4 separate regions of the Homo sapiens genome follow, and regions 1, 3 and 4 are each linked to region 2. The links are contacts of gene promoters, found by promoter capture Hi-C in human tissues and cell types (Jung and others, 2019). All regions are on one chromosome and are shown on one strand. The core of a region is centred on a gene start or on the middle of the fragment in contact, and the rest is flanking DNA. Distances in the headings are between cores, read along the strand shown.

Region 1 (6,927 bases), core at 4,428-6,927, 190 kb after region 2:
TTGCCAAGTCACATGATATTCATCCCATGTGATTTTCTGTCCCATCTGGCCTAGCCTCTTCTCCTCCGTCTTAGAGGTTGTCCTTCAGGATGGAACAAGAGGTGACTCTAGCATCAAATAGAAATCCAAGCTTTTGCCCATATTACAATCTGACAGAATTTGTGCTCAAATAAGAGAGAATGAATATAGACTGGAAAGATGTTTTTTGGTTTGATCAAGAGGAAAGAAGGGTGGAACGTTGGTCATAGAGCAGTGGTTCTCCACCTTCGGGCTACACTTAGGTGAGGCAGGGACCTAGCAGGTTATATATACCATGCATTCCAACCTTTTAGGGGAAATTTATTTCATATCTGAGAGTTTTGCATCATTGCCAAGTATTGTGCAGCAGCCAAACTGCTTAGTACAAAATAGAATTAAGTTTTTCCATCCATTTTAATAACACATTCATGCATATCAAATTTTAGCAAGCTTCAATGACACTCTCACACTTAGAAGTGACAGTTAAATTAATTTCTGTTATACGTGAACATCAGAATCTATGAGATTGCCTGTATGTCACTCATAAAAACCAAGGAGGGAATATGGATTTTTCGGATCAGTTTACAATCCTTAAAAGACTGTAGATGATAGTTGGAGAATCACTAACATGAAGGGTGGTTCCTAGTCGTTGTAAAGTAGAAGGATGTCAGAAGATCCAAAACCTAGTTTTGACTCTGTCCCTTTCCAAGTGTGTAATCTTGGCCAAGTTCCTTAAACTCACTGAGCTTTATCTGGTTTCTCTACGAAGTGAGGATAACATCTTCCGTATTATAGGTTATAAGATTAGATACAGCATCTGTGAACTAGAGAGACTCGATGTAATTATTAGAATGTTTATTAGGGCTAAACTCAGAGAAGATACATTTTACTAGAAGCGTGGGGAATGTAATTGCACTAAGAACAGAGCTCCCAAGCAGGAAGGATTGTTGGGACAGGTTGCTGAAAAAGAACAGAAGCTATTTTTTGGTGTTATGTGATATGAAGAGGGTGCCCACTTCTTAGGGCCGTGGGTTAGGACTGGTATTCAGGTTTCTGTCTCTCTAGATCTTTTCTCTAGGTTACGTGTGACTTCCATTCTACTCCCCAATCTTCCCTTTCGAATCCAAAAGCAGTAGTCCTTACAGTGGCCTACAAGCCACCCTCTCCCCAACCCATCACCAATCTGACCTCATTTTCACATTCTCTCCCCATCACTCCCTCCCCTCCTCCAGCCACACACCCCAGGCAGCCCTGTGTCCCCTCTGCCTGGAAGTGCTCTCTCTCCAGAGGTCTGCATGCCTCACTTTACCACCTCCTCGGGTCTCTGCTCCACTGTCACCTTTCCAGTGAGACCTTCTGTGACTCTTCTGTTTAAAACTGCATGCTGGTCCCTCCCACTAGTCCTCTTTATTCTCCTTCCCGGCTTTATTTTTCTTCTCAGGGCTTATTACCACCCTAACGCACTGTATATATTTTTTATTTATTTATTTAGTTTACCATCTGTCTTTTGCCATTAGAAAATAAGCTCCAATATGGCAGAAGTTCATGCCTGCTTTGTTCATGTCGATTCCCTGGCACCCAGAACAGTGCCTGGCACTTCGTGGCAGAGACCTGTGATGGGTTGCAGAGCCAGGACTCAGGCTCGGCTCTGTAGGTTACCAGCTTCCCTTCATTTTTCTTTTCTTTTGCTTTATACCATAGCTGACTTTTTCTCTGATTCATTCATTCCTTTATTTATTCATTCACTCATTCAACAAATGTTTGTTTAGTGCTTTCAGTGTACTTATAGGTGCAGTAAGAAACAACTCAAAGTCCTTTCTCTCACAGAGCAAGGGAAACAGACAGTAAACGAGCATATAAAGATTCAAGTAGACATGAGGGCTATAAATAAAGCAGGGAAAGGGGTCTTCAGAGTGACATGAGGTGGTAGGGAAAGGATTCACTGGAAATGACATTTGAGTGGAGACCTGGAGGAGGGGAGGGAGAAAACTGTGTGAGTCCCTGGGAGAAAATGGCTCCAGGTGGAAGGACTTGCAGGTGCAAAGGCTCTGTTCTGGGAGATGCTGACTGGGAGTGAGAGGGAGTGCCAGATGCCAGGCCAAGGGCTAGTGGGCCTGGAGGAATGGGAAGGTCATCTTTTGGAATCTGAGAAACATTTTGATGAGGCCAGAATTATGTGGACTCCTTTTCTTGAGGGAAAGAGTGATGCTCTGATCATCGTCTGGACCTTTCTGTATTTAGGGACCCTGGGTCTCCAGGGGTGTAATGTGAGAGATGGGCCTCACCTGGCTCCTCCTGGGGAAGGGGAATGCTGCTTTGGGTAACTGGTTTTGGCGGGGGTTCAGAAGTTCTTCCTTGGTGAGAGAAGTGATGGGGATGGCACTGGAAGGGAAGTGGCATAACTGTTGTTTCTGATTCAGCTTGAAAAGGAGCTCATTAGAGACCTGAGGCAGAGGCTGGGCCAGGCAGGAAAAACCTCCACACATGCCCTAGTCTAGCTGCAGCCCTGATGGAAGAGCAGACTTCTTAAGAGCACAGATGCTGGCATCAAGCAGGTGATTCAAATGATGACTTTACTAAGCTGTGTGATCTTGAGGAACCCCTTTAAGATTCAGTTTCCTGATCCATAAAACGCAAGTCATGGTACCTCAATTCCACATGATCGTAGTGAGGACTGAGTGAAGTGATAATCATTAAAGGACTTAGCCCAGTGGCCTAATAAATGGTAGGCACTCAAAAAGTGGTAGTTACATAATTGTGACATACAATAATAGATTGCATTCAAAGTCCATCACATGGCCCACTTCCACGCAGATGTTCCCAACGACCATGCCTCTTTTCCCCACTGCCGCTGTTGTTACCATAGAAGTACACGTTTCCATTACTTTATTCCATGCTGTTTTGTCCTGTTTCTCTGTTCTGTTTTACGAAGCTAAGTGGTCTCTCCAGGTTTACTGTATCCAGAGGACTAAAGTGTGGGATCTACAGCTGTGGGTTTGTATAGACCTGTTCTGTTAGTTTTGTGCTACCCAGGAGCTCCGTAAGTAAGAACTTGAAAGAAGCTCCCAAGGAAAAAAAAAGCATCAAAAGGCTTCTGAGAAGATAAAGGCCCTGGGTTTGCAGTGCAGTCTCTTTAATCCAATGTTGGTAGCTTAAAAATAGAAGCTGCCATTCAAAGATATTCTAGGTTGTGCCCCCTCTGGATACCCCTTACTTTTTCACTTCAAAGGCTGATGAAATGCACCAATATGAAGTTCAGCACTTCCCAAACTTCAATTAAGCACATCTCCCCCGCTTTTTTGGTCATAGTCATCTGTCATAATTTGCTTAATAATTTAAAAAAATTTATTCACTTTTTAACTTAAAATATAATTAAAAGGAAACTTGAAATCACATGGGTTTGATAGCCTAGTTGTACTATTCTGATAGCCATTAAAAGATAGATCCATGCAAATAAAAAGAACGTCTCTCCATCTGAAAATATGTGCTGTGCACTCCGCAGTTAGGGAAATATGGACCAAGTAAATGGGTAAACAGAGGAACTTAATTCATCCCTTACTTGGCAAACAAAGGGAAATTAGGATAATCAGTCTTTAGCTTTGTTGGAATTGTGGATAAACTTATTTTAGTGAAAATTTTAAGGATAATAAGGTCTAAAGGCAAAGGCCCAAATTAGTTAAAATTTCAAAATCTTACTAAGATGTTGATTTTTTAAAAAAGTCTGAACATCTCTGCACTGACTCCACTAGCACAACTTTGGGTGTCTTTCTCCCTGACGGCAGGGCCCCTGCCCCTTTTCTCCCTGCAGTGTGTGAGGTCTTGGGTTGCTCATGCCTGTCCTTCCCCTTCCTCAGCCTCCTTGCCTGCATATGCCTGGAACTGCTTTGTCCCCATTTGGTCTCTGAGAAGAGCCCACCATCACCACCCTATCTCTCTAGAGCCTTCTTTTACCTTGAAAAACCTGAGCTGAGTGCCAAAGTCCCAGCCAGGGCAGGGCATGCTGTTTCTTTTCCAACAGCTGGTTGGGCAGATTTGGGACCACTGACCCCTATTGCTAGACTTCCCTAGGACCTTCGAAATGGGTTTTTGTATTGGTTTATTACATTTTCTTACTTAAGATTAATATGTACTATCTAACTGGAATCTGCTGCCAGGTGGAGACCACTGTCTTATTTTATTTTATTTTTTAGCAAGACACGGTCGAATTCAAATGTCATTGAAAGGACACCAAAGATGCCTTCTGTGTTGAGCACAATCCTTCAACAACCTTAGCATTGATTCTTGCATAACTGTTAATAAGTGACTGGCACCATATACTCTTTGCAAAAACGATGAACACTGGTGAGTGGTAGGGAACTCTCCTGGCTGTGTCCTGGAGACTTCAAAGCATTTCTTAGTTGGAAGCACTACACATTCACTTTGTCCTGCTTGGAATCTGGTCTCAGTGGGAACCAGAATGTCCCATATTTCTCACTAGTAACCTAGTTTTCATTTGCAGCTCAAACAATTAGAAACAAATGTCTGAAACAGGTTATTTTCTTCTAAAGAGAAATATCGCAACACCAGGGACTACTTGCGCTCGCCCCACCCTCCATGCCCAGGAGACGGATTCAGTTCTGAGCTCTTCCAGGAGGATGTGTTTGGCATAAGGGAGGTCAGAACGTTTGGAATCACGTTGGTAAAACCACCTGGACTCAAGTCAGCTTCATTCTGTGTCCATTCTGACTCTGCTCAGGGAGTTGGGCCAATGACTCTGTGGTTTCTACAGCCTGACCCAAATTCGATGGACTGGGCAGAGTTCTCTGTTTCCTCTGAGCCAGAAGGGTCCCTTCATATGCCCCAAACTCTTTTTTTACAGACACCTTCTGCTCCTCTCCTATGGAAAGGATTAACCATATTTCACCTCTTCCCAGGAGTCCTCCTAAATGCTAGCTATTTCACCCATTTCCCATTTCAGGATTATTTCTGCCTCCTTAGATGGAGGATGCCTTAACCTTAAACTTCAGATAAATAAATGAGTTACTTACTTGGTTCCACAGTCACACGGGTTCCTTTTCCAAAGATGAGTTTATCGGTGTCACAGCACTTGAGGACGTTCCAAAAACCTCAGCGCTGCTCCCACCTACCTTCTTCCCGTCAGCTTTAGGACTGGAGGATCTTTAAGGCTCAGCTCCATGAAAGATGGCACTTGTTGCTTACCCAGCCGGTTCATAGATGGTTAATCATCTGCAGGTAGGGACAGGTTTGCTTTCGGAAGGCTGTTGTCTGAGGAGTATGGAGGACCATATTTCCTATGGCGGACCTTTCCAGCACAGTACACTTGATGCAGTGCTCTGAACTGTTGCTTTCTATTGTTTTACATTGCTCTCACTTCCTAGACCCATACTCAGCTCTCTGTGTTGGAAAGCTGGCACTGTCAAAGGGGTGGGTCTTGGCTCCATGACTACTCCAGGGTTAAGGCCTTTACAGACACCAGTGCTGCTGCTTTAAAGGCAGATAACGTGTGGCACAGCAAGAGGAGAAAGGGTGGCATGAAGCACTGGGTGATTTACAGAGCAGTCAGCTTTAGAATGAGCAACTGTGGCCGGTGATTGCCTACAAAAAAATCAATCTCTCTTCAAATCCATCCTCCCAAACTGCAAAGCAAAGCACTTGGGTAAATCTCTCTAGAGGTTTGAATTTAGAAATTCCGTATGAGGTGGCTCATATAACTCTCTTTTGCAATAGAATCAACATGAAAACAAGACAAGAATAGTTTTTAAGAAAGGCCTTTTTGTATTCCCCAAATGTGCTGTAAGAAAATGTAGAAATGCCAGTTTCACCCAAGGAAGAACAGCAGTGAGTGAGAGGTCAGCAGCTGTGGTCATCTCCCTGGTCCAGTCAACTTCCTGCTATCCCTTCCAGGCCCCAAAGCAGGGAGGGAAGCTGCTTGCTGTGTTTGTCTCCTGAGGCATGGGACCCAGGGTGAGGATATCCCAGGGAAATGGCACTTTTGCCCCTGCAGTTTTTGTACAGGTCTCTGTAGGTTTTGTAGCACTGTGCGTATCCCCCAGTCACAGTGCTACAGAGCTTTACAAAAACTTCCCCTCGGTTTCACACTATATGGCCCCTGAGAATCCCCAGAACCAGATGTTTTCTCCAAGTCAAGCTCCAGCAAGATCAAAGGGTCCTGACAGTTAGGTCAGGCCAAGCTGGCTCAGGTGCTTCTGTCTGGGGCTCTTCTGCCCCACTGGCTAGATCTGCCTTGGGGTTTGTGACTAGAATGGACTTTTAGAAATAATCACATCCATTCCCATCTGTGCTTTCTGGCCAGTCTGCCCTCAAATGGTTTCCCACTGAGGAGTTTGTCGGGTACTTAAACGTCTCATGGAGATTCTACATGCTGTGGGTTAGGCAGAAAAGGCTTGTGGTCAGTGTAATTTCTCCTGTCACCTGCTAAGCTTCTGAATCACCTCTTCCTGCTTTACACTTGAATAGTGTTATACAGTTTACAAAGGGTTTTCATGTAAATTTAAAATTGTGTCCCCTCCATTGACCTCCTCCCAGTTGCTAAATTCAGGCCAGTAGCCCATATGGTGCTTTGTGCGATTTAGAAAAGGCAGCCCTGCTGGGTGAATGTAGAGATAGCCCCTTGGGTTCAAGCTTGGCGAACAGATTGCACTTTTGTGTGGTTTATAAAAGGCCTTCCCTTTCCGGAAGATGCAACGCCACATCAGGGCCTTGGCTGGCGGCAGAGCACGCATTGAATTTTAGCCCCACTTCTCCTCTCTGCCAGATGCCCTTGTGAAGGCACAACCTGAGCAATCAGAGGCAGCAGCTCTGGCCAAATTCAACGGATGATTTTCAGTTTTAATCTTGTTTGACCTCAGAGTTTTGACCCAGTCATTGCCTTCTCAAAACCTCTCCTCA
Region 2 (7,745 bases), core at 273-2,772:
TGAGATAGGCCTGGGGGTGTTGATCTTGGCTAGTGTTCTGTTCCCAGTTCTTGTTAGTGTAGATGTTTAGGTTTGCATCCTTTCCTAAGTGGGCCTCAGGGGCATCAGACTCAGGCTTGGTGTTCAGGGACAGCTTCGTAATGTGCCCCTGAGGAGTGCCCCATGTTTGGAGGTTTCTCAGAAAGTGCATGCTCTCACCTGAGCCAATCCCACCCCAACCCTCCCAAGTGGGGTCCAAACATGGGACCCTTCTAGAGTATGCCCCCTTCAGCCCTGACAGTGCAGAGTCTGTTTGCAGCAACGCAAGCCTCAGCGCCCAGCACGGAAGCCTGGGGCAGCTGTGTGGGCAGGATATGCTGGGGGCCAGCCCCCTCTACCTTATTTAGGCAAATGTGAGTATTTCTGAGTCCTCCCGCTGAATCCCTTCCAGCTTACTGACTCCTCTGTAGAGTGCAGATGGTGGAGGACAGGAAGTAGTTTCTTCATTTCCAGGAATCCTGGGCAACCGAAATTCCCATGTAGAGAAGCATCTTCCCTTTGTCTTCACACTTTGTAGCCAACCAGATATGCTGTCCAAGGGGAGAATAGTTGATTAAGGCAGAAGCATGGGCCTGATGAGATGTATTCCAGAGCCAGAAGGGACAGTATTCTTCCCTCTAGGGTGGGATGATCAATATCTCAGTAGGGACAAGGAAGATAAGGTTTGTTCTTTTCCAGTATTGCAGAATAGGAGGGGTTCTAGAAAATAAAGCAATATGGTGTTTTATGATTTCACACATCATATGAATTATCATACATTTGTTCTTCACGATCCTTGGCAATGATCGATTATCATATGAGTTATCTTATTTTCCGTTTTGTGCTTCTCAACCTCATGAGGAAGAGGAGGAAAAGAGCATTACCGCTGTTTGTCACATGAGGATTCATTTGCAGATAGTATGAAAATGGAGGCAATTTTTCCAGTCTCAAGAATGGTAAAAGGCACAGGTGGGACTTGAACCCAGACTCTTGGCTTCAAGTCCAGAGTTTTCTCATGCACCAGCTACCCCTCAACAGGATTTGACTATCCTGCAGTAACCCTAGAGGAAGTTTAGTCCTTGGGACGCTTGGCCTGCCAGTCTCTGAAAAAAATATGATGGGGATGGTGGTGGTGGTAGTGCACGTTGGGTTGAGGGGACAGAGGAAGAAGCAGGTTGATGGCTGTTGTCCATCAGGTAACACAGTGTTTCTTTTCCCATTTTCTCTGGAATCAAGAAGCACCCAGAAGACTGGGCTGAGCAGAAGACTGGAGAGGGTGCAGGAAAGATGGTAGCAGGAGAGGAGAATAAAGCACCATCCAGGAGCTTAGTGGAGAGTGCCCCTTTTCTCTCCCCAACTGGATCAGATTGTGTAGACAGTGTGGGAGGTGCAGCTGGTCAATGCTTAACCGAAGGTGATTTCCTCACACACTCAGGATTAGGGCAAGAGGATTTGTAGACCTCTCTATGCTGGAATGGATGTCATACCTTGTAACTTCCTCAGCAGTGTAAAAATCCAACATGTACCTTCCAGCTGTCTACAACACAAGTGCATGCTCGTCGGACAAGAGGTCACAGCTAAGGCAACAATCCACATGAGTTGGGAAGGGCTCATTTCACCTGTCAAACACTGCTGCTCTCATGTGGAATGCACTGTGGCTTTTTGGTCAAGATAATTACCGTGGAAGATCCTAGGTGGCAGCAAATCCCAGGTGAACAGACTGAGCCGTGGAGGTGGCATAAGGCAACCCTAGCCGAGGTGAGTGCAGACCAATCGTTTGGCATTTGGGGGCTGGCTGGGAGCAGCTGTTCCTGTTATAATCTCAGGTGTGTATCTTTGCCTTCATTAAGCTTCTTAATATTTCTGATGTGAGGAAATGATTTTCCAGTGGGTGCAGTTGCACCTTATGCAAAGATGTATTTTGAGAGTTAAATGAATTAAGTCTTGATCCCTCATCCTACCATTTCCAGATTTGGTGACCAAGTCCAAATTCATCCTCCATACTATTCTTCTAGATTTTACAGACTGTGCATATATCTACATTTAGTAACTGCTGTCTCTCTCTCTCTCTCTCTCTCTCTCTCTCTCTCTGTGTGTGTGTGTGTGTGTGTGTGTGTGTGTGTGTGTGTGTGTGTGTGTGTTTCTGCCATGCCAGGGGTCAGGGCTTCTTCTTGGGGCTGTGGCCTTTTCTCCTGCTACATTGGTTCTTTAAGATCCTTGGCAATGATCCATGCTATAACATAGATGAACCTTTACAAATATTATAGTAAGTGGCCTGCACCTGTAATCTCAGCACTTTGGGATGCTAAGACAGGAAGATCGCTTGAGCCCAGGAGTTCGAGACCAGCCTGGGCAATATGGCAAAACCCCTATCACTACAAAAAATACAAAAATTGGCCGGGCATGGTGGTGTGTGCCTGTAGTCCCAGTTACTTGGGAGTCTGAGGTGGGAGGATCACTTGAGCCTGGGAGGTCGAGGATGTAGTGAGTTATGATTGCACCACTGCACTCCAGCCTGGGTGACAGAGTGAGACCCTGTCTCAAAAAATAAAAAAAGTAAAATTATTTTCTAATTAAAAAAAAAATTAGGCTAGGCACGGTGGCTCACGCCTGTAATCCCAGCACTTTGGGAGGCCGAGGTGGATGGATCACTTGAAGTCAGGAGTTCGAGACCAGCCTGGCCAACATGGGGAAACCCTGTCTCTACTAAAAATACAAAAATCTGCTGGGCGTGGTGGCAGACGCCTGTAATCCCAGCTACTTGGGAGGCTGAGGCTGGAGAATCGCTTGAACCGGGGAGGCGGAGGTTGCAGTGACCAGAGATTGCACCATTGCACTCCAGCCTGGGTGACAAGAGTAAAACTCCATCTCAAAAAAAAAAAAAAATTATCCAGGTGTGATGGTGTGCACCTGTAGTCCTAGCTACTTGGGAGGCTGAGGCAGGAGGATCACTTGAGCCCAGGAGTTTGGGGCTGCAGTGAGCTATCTTCATGCCACTGCACTACAGCCTCACTGACAGAGCAGGACCCTGTCTCTAAAAAAAATTTAAAAATAAAAATAAAGAAAATATTATAGTAAGTGAAAGAAGCTAGATACAAAGGACCACATATGGTATGATTCATTTATATGAAATGTCCAGAATAGGCAAATCCATAGTCAGAAAGTAGAAAAATAGTTTCCAGGGAATGGAGGAGGGATCATTAAAATATCCTTAAATCTGCCAGGCATGGTGGCTTGTCCCTGTAATCCCAGCACTTTGGGAGGTCAAGGCGGGAAGATCATGAGGTCAGGAGTTGGAGACCAGCCTGACCAACACGGTGAAACCTCATCTCTACTACAAATACAAAAATTAGCTGGGCATGGTGGCACACGCCTGTAATCCCAGCTTACTCAGGAGGCTGAGGCAGGAGAATCGCTTGAACCCTGGAGGTGGAGGTTGCAGTGAGCTGAGCTCGTGCCACTGCACTCCAGCCTGGGTGACAGAGCGAGACTCCATCTCAAATATATATATATATATATATATATATATATATATATATATATTCTTAAGTTGATTGTGGTGATGGACACACAGTTTTGTGAATACACTAAAAGCTATTGAATTGTATATTTTAAATGGGTGGAATGTATGGTACTTGAGTTATATATCAATAAAGCTGTTAAGAAAGAAAAGATCCTTGGCAATGCAAATGTGGTGAGTTGTCTGGAGAGACTGTCCATGTGCCAAGGCTATAGGAAGGTAGGGCAGGTCGTGAGGACAGGTTCTGTGCAGGAGTGGCTGATGTTCTGACTCAGCTTAGATGGGCAGAGGTCAACTCAGTCCTCGGGATTTCTGCAGTCCTCTTCCTTTACTAGATTATTCTTGTTTTTCCTAGTCCAATCCATATTCTTCTTAGTCACTGGTAATTACGTGGCCTCTGCTATCCAGAGTCCTTCCTAGGTATAGAAGCCCTATTTGACCTTGTCCCTGGAATCTATCAGTTTTCCTGGTAGTTGGTTTGCTTTCCAGACTAATGGCCCAGGACAAATATCCATGAAAAAACTTTGCCGTCCCTTAATTTTTCCTCTGTTTCTGTGATTTTTCTGAAATCAGGTTTCTTCACATCTCTTTTAGACTGAAAGCTGTGCGAGGGCATGCAATTTTTTTTACCATCTCTGCAACCTTTCATCAATCGCAGGCCCCACAACATAGTTGGCACTCAATATGTGTTTGCTAATATACATTTTCAATCCAACTATGTATATATATATATATCCTTTTAGAATAATTTTCTTTCCTTCTTTCTTTTTTCTTTTTCTTTATTTCTTCCTTCCTTCTTTCTTTCCTTCTTTCTTCCCTCCCTCCTTTCTTTCCTCCCTCCCTCCTTCCTTCCTTCCTTTCTTTCTTTTTCTTTCTTTCTTTCTTTCTCTCTCTTTCATTCTTTCTTTCTTTCTCTTCCTTCCTTCCATCCTTCCTTTCTCTCTCTCTCTCTTTCTTTCTTCTCTCCCCCCTTTCTTTCTTTCTTCCCTCCCTCCCTCCTTTCTTCCTTCCTTCCTCTCTCTCTCTTTCCTCTCTGTCTCTCTTTCTTCTCTTTCTTCCTTCCTTCCTTTCTTTCTTTCTTTCTTTCTTTCTTTCTTTCTTTCTTTCTTTCTTTCTTTCTTTCTTATCTTTCTCTCCCTCTCTGTCTCTCTTTCTCTCTCTCTCTCTTTCTTTCTTCAGAGTCTCACTCTGTCACCTAGGCTGGAGTGCAGTGCTGTGTGATCATGGCTCACTGAAGCTCCTGGGCTCAGGTGATTCTCCCACCTTTGCTTCACAAGTAGCTGGGACAACAGCTGCATGGCACCATGCCTGGCTAATTTTTGTATTTTTCATAGAGGCAGAGTTTCACCATGTTGCCCAGGCTAGTCTCAAACTCCTGACCTTAAGTCATCCTCCCACCTCGGCCTTCCATAGTGCTGGGATTACACGCGTTAGCCACCATGCCCAGCTTAACTTCTTTTATATAAAAGGAATATTTGTTCATTGTAAAAAAAAATACTGAAAATATCAAGAAGAGGCTGGGTGTGGTGGCTCATGCCTATGATCCCAACACTTTGGGAAGTAGAGGCAGGAGAATCGCTTGAGCCCAGGAGTTTGAGACCAGCCTGGGCAACATAGTGAGATCCCATAGCTACGAAAAGTAATGGCAAAACCGCAATTACTTTTGCAACAACCTAATAGCTGGGCATGGTGGCATGCACCTGTGATCCCAGATTCTTGGGAGGCTGAGGTGGGAGGATCACTTGATCCAGGGAGGCTGAGTCTGAAGTGGGCTGTATGCTACCACTACTGCACTCCAGCCTGGGTGACAGAGTAAGACTTTGTCTCCAAAAAAAAAAAAAAAAAAAAAATACATTCTCACTGTTGGTTGAGCTGAAGTTTATTCATTTCTTTATTGTATATTCAACTCTGTGAGCATATCATGATTTATTCTCCTGTCTTTGGACACTGTTCCCTCCTTCTCTTTTTTCCCCCTTCCTTCCTCCTTTCCTCCCATCCCCTCTACCCTCCTCTCCTCTCCTCCCCTCTCCTCCCCTCCCTTCCCCCTTTCCTTCCTTCCTTCCTTCCTTCCTTCCTTGCTTCCTTCCTTCCTTCCATCCTTCCTTCCCTCCCTCCCTCCCTCCCTCCCTCTCTCTTTTCCCTCCCTCCCCCTCTCCCCCTTCCCTATACATATTCTTGTTTGTCTCCTGGGGCATATGTGCAAGTTTCTCTACCTAGGAGTAGAATTATTGGGTCACAGAGTATGTGAATGTTCATCTTTACAAGGTAATGACAAATTATTTTCCAAAGCAATTATATAAATTTATGCTCCCACTAGCAGTGTAAATTTTTTTTTTTTTTAAATTTATTTTTTTATTGATAATTCTTGGGTGTTTCTCACAGAGGAGGATTTGGCAGGGTCATGGGACAATAGTGGAGGGAAGGTCAGCAGATAAACAAGTGAACAAAGGTCTCTGGTTTTCCTAGGCAGAGGACCCTGCGGCCTTCCGCAGTGTTTGTGTCCCTGATTACTTGAGATTAGGGAGTGGTGATGACTCTTAAGGAGCATGCTGCCTTCAAGCATCTGTTTAACAAAGCACATCTTGCACCGCCCTTAATCCATTTAACCCTGAGTGGACACAGCACATGTTTCAGAGAGCACCGGGTTGGGGGTAAGGTCACAGATCAACAGGATCCCAAGGCAGAGGAATTTTTCTTAGTACAGAACAAAATGAAAAGTCTCCCATGTCTACTTCCTTCTACACAGACACGGCAACCATCCGATTTCTCAATCTTTTCCCCACCTTTCCCGCCTTTCTATTCCACAAAGCCGCCATTGTCATCCTGACCCGTTCTCAATGAGCTGTTGGGCACACCTCCCAGACGGGGTGGTGGCCGGGCAGAGGGGCTCCTCACTTCCCAGTAGGGGCGGCCGGGCAGAGGCGCCCCTCACCTCCCGGACGGGGCGGCTGGCCGGGCGGGGGGCTGACCCCCCCATCTCCCTCCCGGACGGGGTGGCTGGCCGGGCAGAGGGGCTCCTCACTTCCCAGTAGGGGCGGCCGGGCAGAGGCGCCCCTCACCTCCCGGACGGGGCGGCTGGCCTGGCGGGGGGCTGACCCCCCACCACCTCCCTCCCGGACGGGGTGGCTGCCGGGCGGAGACGCTCCTCACTTCCCAGATGGGGTGGCTGCCGGGCGGAGAGGCTCCTCACTTCTCAGACGGGGCAGCTGCCGGGCGGAGGGGCTCCTCACTTCTCAGATGGGGTGGTTGCCAGGCAGAGGGTCTCCTCACTTCTCAGACGGGGCGGCCGGGCAGAGACGCTCCTCACCTCCCAGACGGGGTCTCGGCCGGGCAGAGGCGCTCCTCACATCCCAGATGGGGCGGCGGGGCAGAGGCGCTCCCCACATCTCAGACGATGGGCGGCCGGGCAGAGACGCTCCTCACTTCCTAGATGTGATGGCGGCTGGGAAGAGGCGCTCCTCACTTCCTAGATGGGATGGCGGCCGGGCGGAGACGCTCCTCACTTTCCAGACTGGGCAGCCAGGCAGAGGGGCTCCTCACCTAGCAGTGTAAATTTTTTAAGTCTCCACATCCTCGTCAACACTTGTTATTGTCATATTTTTGCTTCTTGACAATATAGTGGGTATAAAATGGTATCTTGCTAGTGTCTTAATTTTTTTTATTTTTTTTTTATTTTTATTTTTTTTATTGATCATTCTTGGGTGTTTCTCGCAGAGGGGGATTTGGCAGGGTCATAGGACAATAGTGGAGGGAAGGTCAGCAGATAAACAAGTGAACAAAGGTCTCTGGTTTTCCTAGGCAGAGGACCCTGCGGCCTTCCGCAGTGTTTGTGTCCCTGGGTACTTAAGATTAGGGAGTGGTGATGACTCTTAACGAGCATGCTGCCTTCAAGCATCTGTTTAACAAAGCACATCTTGCACCGCCCTTAATCCATTTAACCCTGAGTGGACACAGCACATGTTTCAGAGAGCACAGGGTTGGGGATAAGGTCACAGATCAACAGGATCCCAAGGCAGAGGAATTTTTCTTAGTACAGAACAAAATGAAAAGTCTCCCATGTCTACTTCTATCCACACAGACCCGGCAACCATCTGATTTCTCAATTTTTTCCCCACCCTTCCCGCCTTTCTATTCCACAAAACCGCCATTGTCATCATGGCCCATCCCCAATGAGCCGCTGGGCACACCTCCCAGACGGGGTCGTGGC
Region 3 (6,875 bases), core at 1,566-4,065, 160 kb before region 2:
GGATTCTCCTGCCTCAGTGTCCTGAGTAGCTGGGACTACAGGTGCATGTCACCCCGCCCTGCTAATTTTTGTATTTTTAGTACAGATGGGGTTTCACCATGTTGGCCAGGCTGGTCTCGAACTCCTGAACTCAAGTGATCTGCCTGCCTCGGCCTCCCAAAGTGCTGGGATTGCAGGCGTGAGCCACCTACCGTGCCCGGCCCTCAATAAATAGTCTTTGAATGAAGAGATGATGTTTCTGGTTTAGACAATTTGTAGGCAGTGATATCATTTACTGTGAGGAGGAGGATGGGGGCATGTTGAATTTGGAATTTATTTTTAGCATAGTAGGCAGATATGCTCTTTGGAATTTAGGAAAGAGATAGGGTTGGAGATTAAACATTCAACAAGTATTTGCGAAGAGGTTGCCACGTTCCCTGCACTGTCATTGTCTTTTTGGAGCACTTTATGTGTGTGCGTGGGTGTGTGTGACCGCATGCATGGGTGCATGCCGGGGTCAGGATGGGCAACCCAATACAGGGATTTTTGTTTTGTTTTGTTTTTTTGAGACGGAGTCTCGCTCTGTCACCAGGCTGGAGTGCAGTGGCGCAATCTCAGCTCACTGCAACCTCTGCTTCCCAGGTTCAAGAGATTCTCCTGTCTCCTCCTGAGTAGCTGGGACTACAGGCATGCACCACCATGCTCAGCTAATTTTTGTATTTTTTAGACGGGGTTTCACCATGTTGGCCAGGATGGTCTTGATCTCTTGACCTCATGATCCGCCTGCCTCGGCCTCCCAAAGTGCTGGGATTACAGGCGTGAGCCACCGTGCCTGGCCTCTGATACAGGGTTTTAATGGATTGTGATGGTGTTGTGATTTGCAAGGTAGAACAAGGCACAGGAGGAGACCAGTCCTAACCTAGGCATTTAGAAACCATTCCTGTAGAAGTTTGAGCTGATACCTGAATGGCGAAGAAGAATTAATCAAGAGTAGAAGAGGAGTGTTCCAAGCAGCAAGAACAGAATGTATGAAAACCTAAATGCCAGAAGTGCTCCTTTCAGGCACTGAAAGGAGTTCAGGGTGGGCTGCAGTGTTGAATTTCAGGAAGAAAAGGTTGAGAGTTGGCTTGCAGAGGTAAATAGAGTCAAGGCATAGGTTGTTCAAAGCTTTATAAGCTGTGCTAGTTATTATTGTGCTATAACAAATAGTCTAAAACGTAGTGTCTTAAAACAGTAGTCATTTTTTTTATGATTTCTGTGGCTTAGAAATTTGGGAAGGGCTTAGTGGGACAGTTCTAGGTCAGGGTCCCTCATGTGGTTGCAGCAGATGGTGACAGGAGCTGGAAAAACGGTTGCTGAGGAAGTTGCAGACAATCTGGGCTTCTTTTTTTTCTTTTTTTGAGGTGGAGTCTTGCTCCGGTTGTGCAGGTTGGAGTGCAGTGGCGCGATCTCGGCTCACTGCAACCTCCACCTCTCAGATTCAAGCAATTCTCCTTCCTCAGCCTCCTGAGTAGCTGGGATTACAGGCGTGCCCCACCACGCCCGGCTAATTTTTATATTTTTAGTAGAGACGGGGTTTCACCGTGTTGGCCAGGTTAGTCTTGAACTCCTGACCTCAGGTGATCTACCCGCCTCGGCCTCCCAAACAAAGTGTTAGGATTACGGGTGTGAGCCACCGCACCCGGCCTTCTTTATCAAATTGTGTCAGTCTTTCCATGTGGTCTTTCCGTATGGACTGTGTTGAGCTTTCTCACAGCGTGGTGACTCGTGGGCAGTCAGACTGCTTATGCAGGCAGCTGAAAGCGTCCAGAATGAGTGTTGTAGCACCCAAAGTGGAAGTTGCATTGCCTTTTATGACCTAGTCTCTGAAGTTGCATGGTGTCAATTCTGTCATACTCTATAGGTAGAGGCATTCACAGAAGACCATCCAGTTTCGAGAAGAGGGGTACAGACCCTGCCTCTTGATGGGTAGAGTGTCAAAGTCACATTGTAAGAAAGGAATATGGGATGGGAGACGTTGAGGCATATTGGAAAACTCCAATCTATTGCACCAACTATATTAAGGAGTTTGGTGGGCTGTCTTCTAAGGCAATGAGAAAACTCTTAAGGCCTTTAAAAGCAGAAGAGTGGCATTTGTGATTTAGATTTTAGAATTTGTGAGTTTAAGAAAGATTAGTTTTTCTATGTAGGATTGAAAGCTGGGAGACAGGTGGGAAGCTGCTGCTATGATCCTAGTGAGAAATGATGGTGGCTTGGACTAGAGTCATGTTTTGGGGACAGGGAGACTTAAGACTTGGACTATGAGTAGATATGAGTGGAAGTTGTTGATGACAATAACATGCCCAGGTCTTTGGCTTGCATAAATGGGTGGATGGTGACGCCAGTTACTTGTATGGGGAACACCGAAGGTGCAGTAGGTTTGGGAGAAATTGATGGAATCAGTTTTGGACATGTTGAGTTTGATGTGCCTGGTAATGTCCAGTAGGTGGTTGAATATTCATATATATCTAGAATCATGACAGTTGGGCTGATGATATACTTTTGGGAGTCATCATTGTATATATGGTTATTGAAACCATAGGAACAGGCCAGGGCGGTGGCTCACACCTGTAATCCCAACACTTTGGGAGGCTGAGGTGGGCTGATCACTTGAGGCCAGGAGTTCGAGACCAGCCTGGCCAACATGGCGAAACCCTGTCTCTACTAAAAATACAAAAACTAGCCGGGCATGGTGGTGTGCACCTGTAGTCCCAGCTACTCTGGAGGCTGAGGCAGGAGAATCGCTTGAACCCTGGAGGAAGAGGTTGCAGTGAGCCGAGACAGCTCCACTGCACTCCATCTTGGGTGACAGAGCAAGATTCTGTCTCAAAAAAAAAAAAAAAAAAAAAAAAGAAAGAAAAAAATAAAAAGAAAAAGAAACCACAGGAACAGATGAGATGACCTTGGGACAAGATGTAGAAAGGGAGGACAAAGGGGCTTAGAAGCATTCTGAGGAATACCCACATTTGAGGGATAGGTATTTTGTGAAAAGATGGAGAAGGAGCATCTAGAGAGATAGGTGGAAACCTGGAAGATGGTGAGTGGAAGGGAGTGAATTGAGAAGGAATGAATGACTACCTGTGTCCAATCTGCTAAGAGGTCAAGCTAGGTAAAGATTGAGTATAGTTGATTGGATTTATTGATATGAAGGTCACTGGTGGCTTTTCATGTGGGCTTTCTCCTAAGGCAATGAAATTTCAGGGCAGTGAGGGTGAAATCAGGTTTCAGAAATATCATTTATTCACCCAGCAAAATGTATTAAGTGTTACTGTGTGTCTAGTTCAGGACTATGCCCATGGGTACAAGGATAACTGTTATCCACTCTCTGCCCTCACACAGCTCTCGTGGGTGGGAGAGACATATGTACACTGTTCTAATGCAGTGTAGTTAATTGGGGAGGTGAGAGCACAGAGCAAGGGCAGCATACCAGAGGTGGCAGGTTTACACTCAAAAATAGCCTTTCTGGAGGAGCTATTAAGTTTAAAATAAGGAATAAAATGTCATTTGGAATTGGCAACTCAGAGGGTCAAAGGAAAACTTTTGCAGGGTGAAAGAGGAAGGAGTTGCAACATCTCAGACTGCATTGTAGAGACCCAGGAACGGGAAGGAATGTAGACATGCTCTTCAGATGAATGATTCTGAAAGCATGGAGGGTGATTGTTAGAGGAAAGGACCAAGGTTGAGGGACGATTTTATGAAAAAGAGTTAAGCCTGCCTTAGGTTGGTTGAGGTATGTTTCTGGAAAAGTTGGATGAAATATCTCTACCCTACAATGATGCCTTCTCCATGGCTGTAATGATTGGGTGCCCTGAGTCAGACTTCTTTTTCTTGAACAGTGTAGGGGATACCCTTATCCCTTTGGAAGGCACTGGTGCATGGTGGTGAACAGCGTGGAATCAGGCAGGATTCAATCAATGCTAGGTCAAATTTATTAGCCTCAGTTTCCTCTTGTTCTCCTTCTCCTTCTCCTTTTCCTCCTTCTCCTTCTTCTTCTTCTTTTTTTTTGACAGAGTTTCACTCTTGTTGCCCAGTCTGGAGTGCAGTGGCGTAATCTCAGTTTACTGCAACCTCCGCCTCCTGGGTTCAAGCGATTCTCCTGCCTCAGCCTCCCGAGTAGCTGGGATTACAGGTGCCCACCACTATGCCCGGCTAATTTTTTGTATTTTTAGTAGAGATGGGGTTTCACCATGTTGGCCAGGCTAGTCTGAAACTCCTGACCTCAGGTGATCTACCTTCCTCGGCCTCTCAAATTGCTGGGATTACAGGCATGAGCCACCGTGCCCAGCCCTCAGTTCTCTCTTCTATAAAATGGGGTCCCTACCTCATAGAAATGTGATCTATATTTGTACCATATTTTCATCTTTTTCTATTCAAATCATGACAGTTTCCAAAGAGCAAACACAGAGTCTCTGCTCCTGCCAGTTGTTTGCAGTCTTTTGGCAGGCATAGTCTACCTTTAGAGCTGTTGAACTACAGCCCTAGATAGTCTGGTATTACTAATAGACCTTGAAATCATTTACTGGTTATTGCTTAAGTAGGTTTTTTTATACGGGTGGTTGACTTCATTCATTGCTGATTTCATTGTCAGGGTAATAACGTTTTGCCCTCTCTGTCAGGAATATTGCTTCCCCTCCCCCACCCCAGCAGCAGCCTCCATGCACTCAGTCCAGATAACAGTGATCCTGGTGCTTGCCTGCACCCCATTCACTCCTCCAGTGACGTGTGGGTAGATAGGTTGCCTCTCAGTGACTTTCATAGCAACTGATTCTTGTAATTGTCAATGTCCACTTTTGAGTGAAGGCTGGAGACTGGATCTTAATCTCAGAGCCTGCACAGGGCCTGGAACACAGTGGGTACTCAATATAAGCTTAATGAATGAATGAATGAGTGAGTGAGTGAAGGAATTCTGAGTTTTGAAGGAGCCTCACTGTCCTGTCTAGGGTAGTAGAAATGGTTGCTTTTCCCAAACAGAGAGGTGTGCAGATGGCACCTCCTGAAGCTGCTTATTCTGACTTCTTGGAGAAATTCGTGGACTGCCCCAGTGCTCTGAAGTTCTAGGCATCTCCATTACCACAGGGGGAGATAATCCCACTCCCCGTCTCACATTCTTGCATACAGTTAGGGAGGTATGTGGTGTGGTGGAATGGATGTAGGCTTTGGAGCTAGTCACTGCCTGACCTCAGTTTTCTCAAGTGTAAAATAAAGATAATAAAACTTACTCTCTGTCAGATTAAATTAGAAGATAGGTGTAAGTACATAGTGACCTGGCACACAGTTGTCAGTTAAAAATAGTATCTATTACTGCAAGTTATATTCATATCATATGCATCTTATTGATTTCTAAAAGCTTTACCTTCCGCATGCTGTCTTTGGATGACTTAAAAGCAGTTTACATTTTACTTCACAATAGCTCAGGGATCAGAAAGGAGGGCTGAGCCTTTTCTTTCTGTTTTGCAAGAGAGGTGGAACTTTCCTCTCAGCAAGAGGATAGGTGTCCAGAAGTCCAGCTCCACCCGACTGTCCTTTCCTCAGAGCCAAGGTGTTTTGGCCCACTGTTCACAGGTGGACATGACTGTTCTTGCCTTACCTACACTTGCCCACACTGAGACCTAGTTGTTTTGCCATTCAGGACACTACCAGGACATTTTTACCATCTATGCCTTCAGTATGTCCCCTGTACCAGTGAGTCAGCAGTACCTGGCAGTTCAGGGCTCTTTGTTTACAGAGTACTGTTCTTCAGGGATCAGGCAAAGATTCTTCGTGTCATACACATGTGGCCACAGTGAATTGCATGTAGTGGGTTCTTCAATAAATGTTGGCTGGATGAATGAACAGAAGATATGATTCCAGGTTCAACTTGGCTGAGAAGGGTATTTCGTGCTTTTGCCTTTCAGGGTGCTGGTGGGGGCTGAGGGTTGCTGTGGGAAGGGGGCAGACAGCTTACCCTGAGTCTGCCAGAGCCGCTGTGGGCTGTGAAGGACTTTGGATCTCTGTGTGTCTGAGAGCTTTGGCCAGGTGTCCTCGTGCAGCTTCTCCTGGTACCAGAATGACTGATCTCATGTACTTGTGGCTAATGAGGTGGAACAGTCAGATGCTGGGCCCCCCAACGGACTTTTGCCCTTTGAACCTTCTACTTGGAAGCTAGTTGCCTTTTTCAGAGGGCTTTTCCCAAGAGCCATCTGAGGGTGGAGGTGAAGAAACTTACCTTTTCTGGCCCATATTCACCTCAAGAAATAGGCTTTCATCAGAGCCTTGGGTTCTAGTGTGGGTTTGTTGTGAACTTTGGAACAAACTCTTGACCAGCAGTGAAGGGGTAGACCTTTATGCTGCTTTGATCATCAAGTCCCTTTGGGGGCTCATCCTTGCTCTCTTCCTTTCTATGTTCTATGTTTCTATGTTCCTTTCTTTTTCTCTCTGCCTCAGAAGAAGCTGGGCAGGTAGCCTAGAGGAGGTTGCGGAAGATGCTGGGCAGCAGTGGGTCCTAACTCTGGCTGTGGATTGGAATCATCTGGAGAATTAAGAAAACAAGGCCGGGCACGGTGGCTCACGCCTGTAATCCCAGCACTTTGGGAGGCCGAGGCGGGCAGATCACAAGGTCAGGAGATTGAGACCATCCTGGCTAACATGGTGAAACCCGTCTCTACTAAAAATACAAAAAATTAGCTGGGTGTGGTGGCAGGCGCCTGTGGTCCCAGCTACTCGGGAGGCTGAGGCAGGAGAATGGTGTGAACCCGGGAGGCGGAGCTTGCAGTGAGCCGAGATTGCACCACTGCACTCCAGCCTGGGCGACAGAGTGAGACTCTGTCTCAATTAAAAAAGAAAAGAAAAGAAAAGAAAAGAAAAGAAAAGAATAGAAA
Region 4 (7,591 bases), core at 1,261-3,760, 250 kb before region 2:
TCTCTCTCTGTCGCCAGGCTGGAGTGCAGTGGCATGATCTCAGCTCACTGCAACCTCTGCCACCCAGGTTCAAGCGATTCAGCCTCCCGAATAGCTGGGATTACAGGTGCCCACCCCTGCGCCTGATTAATTTTTGTAGTTTTTAGTAGAGATGGGGTTTCGCTATCTTGGCCAGGCTGGTCTTGAACTCCTGACCTCATGATCCACCGGCCTTGGCCTCCCAAAGTGCTGGGATTACAGGCGTGAACCACTGTGCCCGGCCTATTTCGTTTCATTTTTGAAGTGGTACTAAATGACACAGTTAAAAGTTCCAAAGGTAGGCCAGGCGCGGTGGCTCACGCCTGTAATCCCAGCACTTTGGGAGGCTGAGGTGGGTGGATCATGAGGTCAGGAGTTCAAGACTAGCCTGGCCAAGATGGTGAAACCCCCGTCTCTACTAAAAATACAAAAATTAGCTGGGCGTGGTGGTGGGCACCTGTAATCCCAGCTACTCGGGAGACTGAGGCAGGAGAATCGCTTGAACCCAGGAGGTGGAGTTTGCAGTGAGCTGAGATTGTGCCACACTGCACTCCAGCCTGGGCAACAGAGCAAGACTCTGTCTCAAAAAAAAAAAAAAAAATTTCCAAAGGTAGAAAAAGGGCATACAGGCTGGACGCGGTGGCTCAGGCCTGTAATCTCAGCACTTTGGGAGGCTGAGGCAGGCGGATCACCTGAGGTTGGGAGTTTGAGACCAGCCTGACCAACATGGAGAAACCCCATCTCTACCAAAAATACAAAAGTGGCCGGGTGTGGTGGCACATGCCTGTAATCCCAGCTACTCGGGAGGCTGAGGCAGGAGAATCGCTTGAACCCAGGAGGCGGAGGTTACAGTGAGATCGTGCCATTGCACTCCAGCCTGGGCAACAAGAGTGAAACTCCGTCTCAAAAAAGAAAAGAAAAGAAAAGAAAAAGGGCATACAATGAAAAGTCAGCTTCCCATCCTGGTCTTCTACTCACCCAGTTCCCCTTTCCAGAAGCAGCCAGTACCATCTTTTTTTTTTTTTTTTTTTTTTTTGACAGAATCTCACTCTGTTGCCCAGGCTGGAGTACAGTGGCACGATCTCGGCTCACTGCAACCTCCACCTCCTGGGTTCAAACAATTCTCCTGCCTCAGCCTCCCAAGTAGCTGGGATTACAGGCATGTGCCACCATGCCCAGCTAATTTTTGTATTTTTAGTAGAGATGGGGTTTCGTCATGTTGGCCAGGCTGGTCTCGAACTCCTGACCTCAGGTGATCTACCCGCCTCGGCCTCTCAAAGTGCTGGGATTACAGGCATGAGCCATCCTGTGCCTGGCCTGTAACAAACCCTTTTGTGAATCTGATGAAATTCATGAACCCTATTCTCAGACACAGGTATGACTACACAAATACATCAGATTGTATGTACCATTTCACAAGACGCAGACTCCATCAGTAGTCTGGGGTAAGGATCCCAGCCTGTACTGCACCTTCTCCCTTAGTATAATTGTGGATCCCCTTGCAAAATGAAAATACAGGGCTCCTTGTTCGAAGAATTTTAAGAACATAACAGCAGAACATTAAACTAAGCTTAGGGCCCTATGTGACTGCACAGGTCACCTTTTCTCCTTGCTCTTCTACTACTATCTTTATGGTAATTATTCTCAAATCTGTTTCTCTTGTCCCAACTTGTTCTGAATTTCAGATTCAGATTCAACTCTAGAGAGCTGCTGAAACTCTATATAGATGTTCTTCTAGCATCTCAAATTCAGTGTCTCCAAAATGGAGCTCCTTACTCTCACTACCTCCTCTGCCCCTTTACTCCAAGTTCTGCACCATCCTCTCACCACCTACAACTTTTTCCTCTCTTTATACTCATCCACTAAGTTGCCAAGTCCCATTGATTCTGATGCTCAAACCCATGCCTCCTTCCTTTCCCACTGCCACCCCCCTCAGGATGGCCTTTCATTATCCTCTGTATGTATCACTATTAACTGGTCCCTAAACTCAGCTCCTCAGTACTTGCCTCTGCAGCTCCAATCCATACACACCTCTCCCAGCCTCCTCTTCCCAAAAGACCATCCTAATCATGACTTCCACATTCAGATACCTGCAGTGACTCTCCCTGCCTACAGAGTTGGGCACAAACTCTTTTTCCTGGCATTTAAGGTCCTTTACAGTGGGACTCCAAACCTTCTTTTCCATGCTCATCTCTTACCCCTCCTCTTCATGTCCCTGAGGTTTCAACCCAACTGTACAGCCATCTGGTCCCTTAATGGGCCCAGTGTGTTTTCCTGTGTTTTAAAATTTGAGCTGCCTCTGTTCATGGTCTTCAGAATTTAGAACTTGCTTACTCCACTACAGCCATGTAATTTCTCTGGACCTTTCACCACAGCCACTGCACATGGCCCTGCCCATTGTGTCCCCGCATCTTGACTGCTGTCCCCTCTTTCTCTTCCTCCCATCCTTATTGGAAAGGGAGCCTCAGATGCAAAGCTGGATAAAATCATCATTAAGTATCAAGCAGAGCTGGGCGCGGTGGCTCACGCCTATAATCCCAGCACTTTGGAAGGCTGAGGTGGGTGGATCACCTGAAGTCAGCAGTTCAAGACCAGTCTGGTCAACATGGTGAAACTCCATCTCTACTAAAAATACAAAAAATTAGCTGGGCGTGGTGGTGGGTGCCTGTAATCCCAGCTACTCGGGAGGCTGAGGCAGAAGAATCACTTGAACCCGGGGGGTGGAGGTTGCAGTGAGTGGAGATCGCACCATTGCACTCCAGCCTGCGTGACAAGAGCAAGACTCCATCTCAAAAAAAAAAAAAAAGTATCAAGCAGACATGAAATCCCAACTCTACTGCTTACCGGGTAACCTCAGGCAAGTTACTTACACTCTGTTTCTTCTACTGTTAAACAGGTAGTAACACCTTATATAGGTTTTTTTTTTTTGCTTGTTTGTTTTTTGAGATGGAGTCTCACTCTGTCGCCCAGGCTGGAGTGCAGTGGCACGTTCTCAGCTCACTGCAACCTCTGCCTTCTGGGTTCAAGCTATTTTCCTGCCTCAGCCTCCCTAGTAGCTGGGATTACAGGCGCCTGCCACCACGCCCAGCTAATTTTTGCACTTTTTAGTAGAGATGGGGTTTCACCATATTGGCCAGCTTGGTCTCGAACTCCTGACCTTGTGATCCACCCACCTTGGCCTCCCAAAGTGCTGGGATTACAGGTGTGAGCCATGGCGCCCGGCCCTTTTTTTTTTTTTTTTAAAGAGACAAGTTCTCGTTCTATCACCCAGGCTGGAAGGCAGTGATTGCAGCTCACTTCAGCCTTGAACTCCTGGGCTCAAGTAATCCTCCCACTTCCTGAGTAGCTAGGACTACAGGTGCACTGCTTTTTTTTTTTTTTTTTTTTTTTTTTTTTTTGACAGGGTCTTGCTCTGTTGCCCGTGCTGCAGTGCAGTGGTACAATCACAGCTCACTGCAGCCTTAACTTCCTGGCTCAAGGGTTCCTCCCAGCTCAGCCTCTCAAGTAGCTGGGACTATCTGAATGACACCACACCCAGCTAATTTTTTGTAAAGACAGGGTTTTGCCATGTTGCCCAGGCTGGTTTCAAACTTCTGAACTGAAATGATCCTCCTGCCTCAGCCTCCCAAAGTGCTGGGATTACAGGTGTGAGCCACATGCCTGGCCAATTTTTATATTTTTTTTTGTAGAAACTGGCTCTCACTATGTTTCCCAGGCTGGACCTTATATAGTCTTTAAGGAATTAACAGATAAAGTGTATAAAGTCCTAAGGATAGGGCCATTATTCATCTTATTATAAGTACCCATGCTGGGATGGTCCCCTTGGCTCCTCCCCAGCTACAAGGACTCAGGAAGCATTGCAACCCTCTTTCCATCAAGTTCTGGGAGGCTGTGTGGGGTAGAATGGAGGCTGGCCCTCAGGTGCTCAGGTAGCTGTATTGTATGTCTAGGGGTGGTGAGGGGAGCTGCTGCCTCTGCTCCCTTTGTTCAAACTCATGGCTCAGGCAGCAGCAGGCGTGGGCGTCCCCAGGGGAGGCAGTGACAGTTTCAGTACTCACACGGGCTTTGCAGGTGACAGCTGGGGCTGTGGAGCCCTGCCAGAGGAGGCACAGACAGACCCCCATCACGCCACAGCTGATGGGCTTCCCTGGTGGATATGGGCCCCACTTTGAACCAGCCCAAGTCAAAGCTGAGTACCGCTGGGAGCTAAGTGTAGCCTCTAGCCTGTTCCCTGCAGGATAGAGTGGGGGTAAGGAGATGAGGCTCAGAATCTAGAGATTTGGTCCCACTGTGTCACTAATTTACAAATGACTTCTAGGAGGTCCCTGTTCCTCTCCAAGCCTGTTTTCTCATCGGCAAACGCAAGAAGTGGACCTGATTATCTGTAAGGGCCTGTGGCCCTATGACATGGACTACCCCAGGCCAAGTCAGTTCCAGAGCCTCCTTAGAGAGTTAGGTTCCTTGCTCCTCTGGGCCTGAGTTTTCTGGTGGGTAACAGCAGTTTCCATCAACACCCATTCCTTCCCCAAAGACTCCAAGAACAGAGTCAAAAGTGAACAGAGGCAGTACAAAAATTATTTATTGAAAAGGGAAAGGGTGGCCCCTTGCTGGTGCCCCCCTGGCCCTGGCCAAAAGGGGTTGCCACTGCTCATTATCTGAATGCAGAAAGTCTGTCCACCCCTTACCTTTAATAACCTTAAAGGGGAAGTGCCGTGGTGGACTGGTAAGTCAAGAGAATCCATCTCAGGAACAGCACTTCCAGGCCCTTGCCTTTAAGAACTCCTTAAAGGCAAAGTGGACACATGCCGCACCAGATGAGAGCCAGAACGTTTTCGGGAAGGTCCCTGGAGGAAGTGTTTTCGTGTCTTTACCTTTAAGACTCTCTTAAAGGTGAGGCATGTTCACGCAGCGTACAAAGGAGGCAAACTCCGTCAAGGAGTCTACGAAGCACTTTTCCAGATCTTGCTTTTAGAATCTCTTTACAGATGAGGTGGCCAAGCGCGAATTAATAAAAAACAAAATACCTTGCAGAATTATTTTTCTTCCCGACCCAGCAGAACCCGCCCCGCTCACCGGCCGCCTTCAGGTCTGCGTCCTCGCCTTCTAGGCGCCCTGAGGCCCAAAGCTCCAGAGAACGCGTTGGGGCGGGTGTGGAGGTGCCGCCGAGCGGCCCCGGGCCGCCCCCGGCGGTCACACCGGGGCATCCTGGGAGTTTTTGGTTTCCTAGACGGCCTCCACCAAGGAAGCCGGACGGGGGCGGGGCGGGGCGAGGGGGGGCGAGCGGAGGGCGCGGTGACCATGGCGACCGCAGTGGCCATGGCGACCGCGGCTCAGAGCACCGAGAGGTCGTGACACGACCTGGAGCGCTGCTTGAAGAACTTGGCGTTGCGCGGCACCAGGTTGGCGAGGAACCTCTTGGCTTTCTTGGTGAGGCTCTCGCGGCGTGCAGGTGGCGCAGGGCCCTCGGGGCTGCCCGGATCGGGCCTCTGGCCTCCGGCGTGGTTTCGGCCCCGCCGCAGCCGGATCTGGCGCACCGCGCCCTCGAAGAGCTCCCTCGTGTTGTGGTGCAGTGCGGCCGACGTCTCGATGTGCTTGCAGCTCAGCGTCCCGGCCAGGTGGCGGCCCTCTGCAGGAAGGCACCGGCTCAGGCGCCCGCTGGGCTGTACGGGACCCGGGGCGAGGGTGGGTCTAGGGAGGGCCTGGGCGTGCGGTGGCAAGGGATTGGTACTAGTGAATCTTGCAACCGAGAGAACATGGCTGAGCTCATATGGTGGGTCTGTGGAGGTGCGAAGGAGAGGGAGAAGGAGGCCTAGGAGAGAGGTGAGGGGAAGTGACAAGAAGGGATTCTCAGGATCCTCGAGTGGGGCATTGGGAGTGTCCCCCTAGCCTGGGTCTGATTGCAAGTGAGTGCGTCCGCGATGGTAAAAAGGCCTTAGGGAGAAGAGGTGACTTGGAAGGGAGAGCATTCCCCTGAGATCGCAAGTATGGAATCTGTTCAGGATACACACCCTCCAGTGATACCTCCCGGGAGCGGGCCAAGTCGCTCTTGTTTCCAACGAGGATAACGGGTAGGTCGTGGTGCGGCCTCCCAGCCCGGAGCCGAAGTAGGGTCTCTGGAACTTTGGAGAAACTCCGTCGGTCGGTGACTGAGAAGACGATGAGAAAGGCGTCCCCGGTCTGAAGGCAGTGGTCCCGCAGCCACCCTCCTGCATCCCCCTGCAGACAGGCAGAGGAACGTTAGGGCTGGAGGCATAGGAGATCCTGTCCAGCACCTACACCTCAAAGAGGAGGAACAGGGCTGTGAGGCAGAAAGAAGCCACCTGCTTAGGACAGCAGAGCTAGTTAATGGCAGAATCTCCCTACCCAGAGTGTTTGTGGAGGCGGAAGAAATTAGTAATATGAGGATCCTAGACTAGGGTAGCCATCCTAATTTCTTAAGCTCTTGATTCAAAAATGAATATTATTCACACGTCTGTAATTTGGCCTCTTATTTCTACATAGTAACCTTTATGTCCAAATATTCAGAAGTCCTCACTTTTTTCCCCCTTCCCTGATATTCCAGATCCCTGAGCTCTTGTCTTGTCACATCAGATTCCTTCAGGCTGAAAAATTTATGGATGGAGTCAATTTCAGGGTGTCCAGCCTAGCTTGGAGCTGCAGGGTTTGTCAAATTCCCATCCTAAGTTTGCTCTGAGTCAGAAGATCCTGGAAAGACTGTGGGTCTTAACAGCCACAGGCTGTAGTGTGGGTCTTTGCTTTCTGAGGTGATATGAATGAAAGGTCAGGTTCCAGTACATGTGGAAACCAGGACCAGCAGTCCCACCAGCCTTCAGCCAGACTTTGCCCTTCCCCAGTTCTCCCAGCTTCATCACCTGCCTGCAGCCACATCTTAGTTCTCACCTGTTCCCAGATGTCATAAACGACTAGAGTCACTTCCTCCTTATCCACCATGATGCGTCTCTCATAGGTATCCTCTGCTGGGAAATAGGGAGAGGGTATAAAGTCCATTAGGAGGTTTCCCAACATTTGTGAGACCTGGTAACCAGGGACACCTCAGATCTCAGCACCAGGGAACCCTGCCCCTCTTCAGGGAGGCTGCCACAGAAAGCATTGGAAAAGCTTCTGTTAAGCTCTGTCCTTCAGGGGCTGCTCAGGTCACGAGCACTTCCTTCCCTGACCAGGGCCCCAGAGCCCCCTCAACCCCTGGAGGGCTTCCCCAAATACCTGGGTTCTCCGGTTCGTGAGCACTGTCTCCCTGGAGACCACCAAAAGTGCCTGCTAGGGTGCTCTTGCCCACGCCGCTCTCCCCCACTAGCATGACCTTGAAGATGCCATCCTTTTGAGCAGGGGCTGCCTCCCCTGAGCCCAAGGAGTCAGACGAGCCAGAGGATGAGGCCTGAGGTGGCCAGTCAAGTTCATCTACAGCCTGGGCCCGCCGGAGCTGGTGCTTGTAGGGGACAGGCATACTGCCTCTTCGTCTGGGGGCCCCAGGGGCAGAGGGTAACCCGCTCCGGTCCAACTCTGCCAACAGTTTCTCTGACTTCTTTAGTAGCGTGGCATCTGCTTCTAAAAT

What was found. The method cuts DNA at HindIII sites, captures the fragments that hold promoters and counts their contacts. A contact is called where the count stands out against the background at its distance.
Region 1: a fragment that was not itself captured here is called in contact with the fragment with the promoter of OR6J1 in region 2 in 2 of the 25 tissues and cell types used here (pancreas and spleen).
Region 3: a contact is called between a fragment that was not itself captured here and the fragment with the promoter of OR6J1 in region 2, in 2 of the 25 tissues and cell types used here (aorta and spleen).
Region 4: a fragment that was not itself captured here is called in contact with the fragment with the promoter of OR6J1 in region 2 in 1 of the 25 tissues and cell types used here (lymphoblastoid cells).

Annotation. Positions count from the first base shown.
Region 1 is chr14:22,448,258-22,455,184 of GRCh38, reverse strand. The region is part of intron 2 of TRD-AS1 (TRD antisense RNA 1); the gene reads left to right. It also overlaps TRA, TRD, TRDD3 and TRDJ1. Among named protein-coding and RNA genes, the nearest start is that of TRD-AS1, 31 kb to the left of the region's middle. RefSeq lists an enhancer at 6,699-6,927. The HindIII fragment of the contact is 4,427 bases long and covers 3,464-6,927 here.
Region 2 is chr14:22,638,129-22,645,873 of GRCh38, reverse strand. OR6J1 (olfactory receptor family 6 subfamily J member 1) reads left to right here and starts at 1,522. Exons shown (of 2, transcript NM_001348233.2): 1 at 1,522-1,776. The HindIII fragment of the contact is 14,040 bases long and covers 867-7,745 here.
Region 3 is chr14:22,795,444-22,802,318 of GRCh38, reverse strand. All of the region lies in intron 2 of SLC7A7 (solute carrier family 7 member 7), which reads left to right. Among named protein-coding and RNA genes, the nearest start is that of SLC7A7, 17 kb to the left of the region's middle. RefSeq lists an enhancer at 5,736-5,805. The HindIII fragment of the contact is 4,620 bases long and covers 506-5,125 here.
Region 4 is chr14:22,884,667-22,892,257 of GRCh38, reverse strand. REM2 (RRAD and GEM like GTPase 2) reads right to left here. Exons shown (of 5, transcript NM_173527.3): 2 at 7,243-7,584; 3 at 6,919-6,992; 4 at 6,027-6,234; 5 at 4,580-5,644. The coding sequence ends at 5,349. Among named protein-coding and RNA genes, the nearest start is that of REM2, 5.2 kb to the right of the region's middle. RefSeq lists an enhancer at 3,821-3,920 and silencers at 5,151-5,480, 5,721-5,790. The HindIII fragment of the contact is 3,706 bases long and covers 658-4,363 here.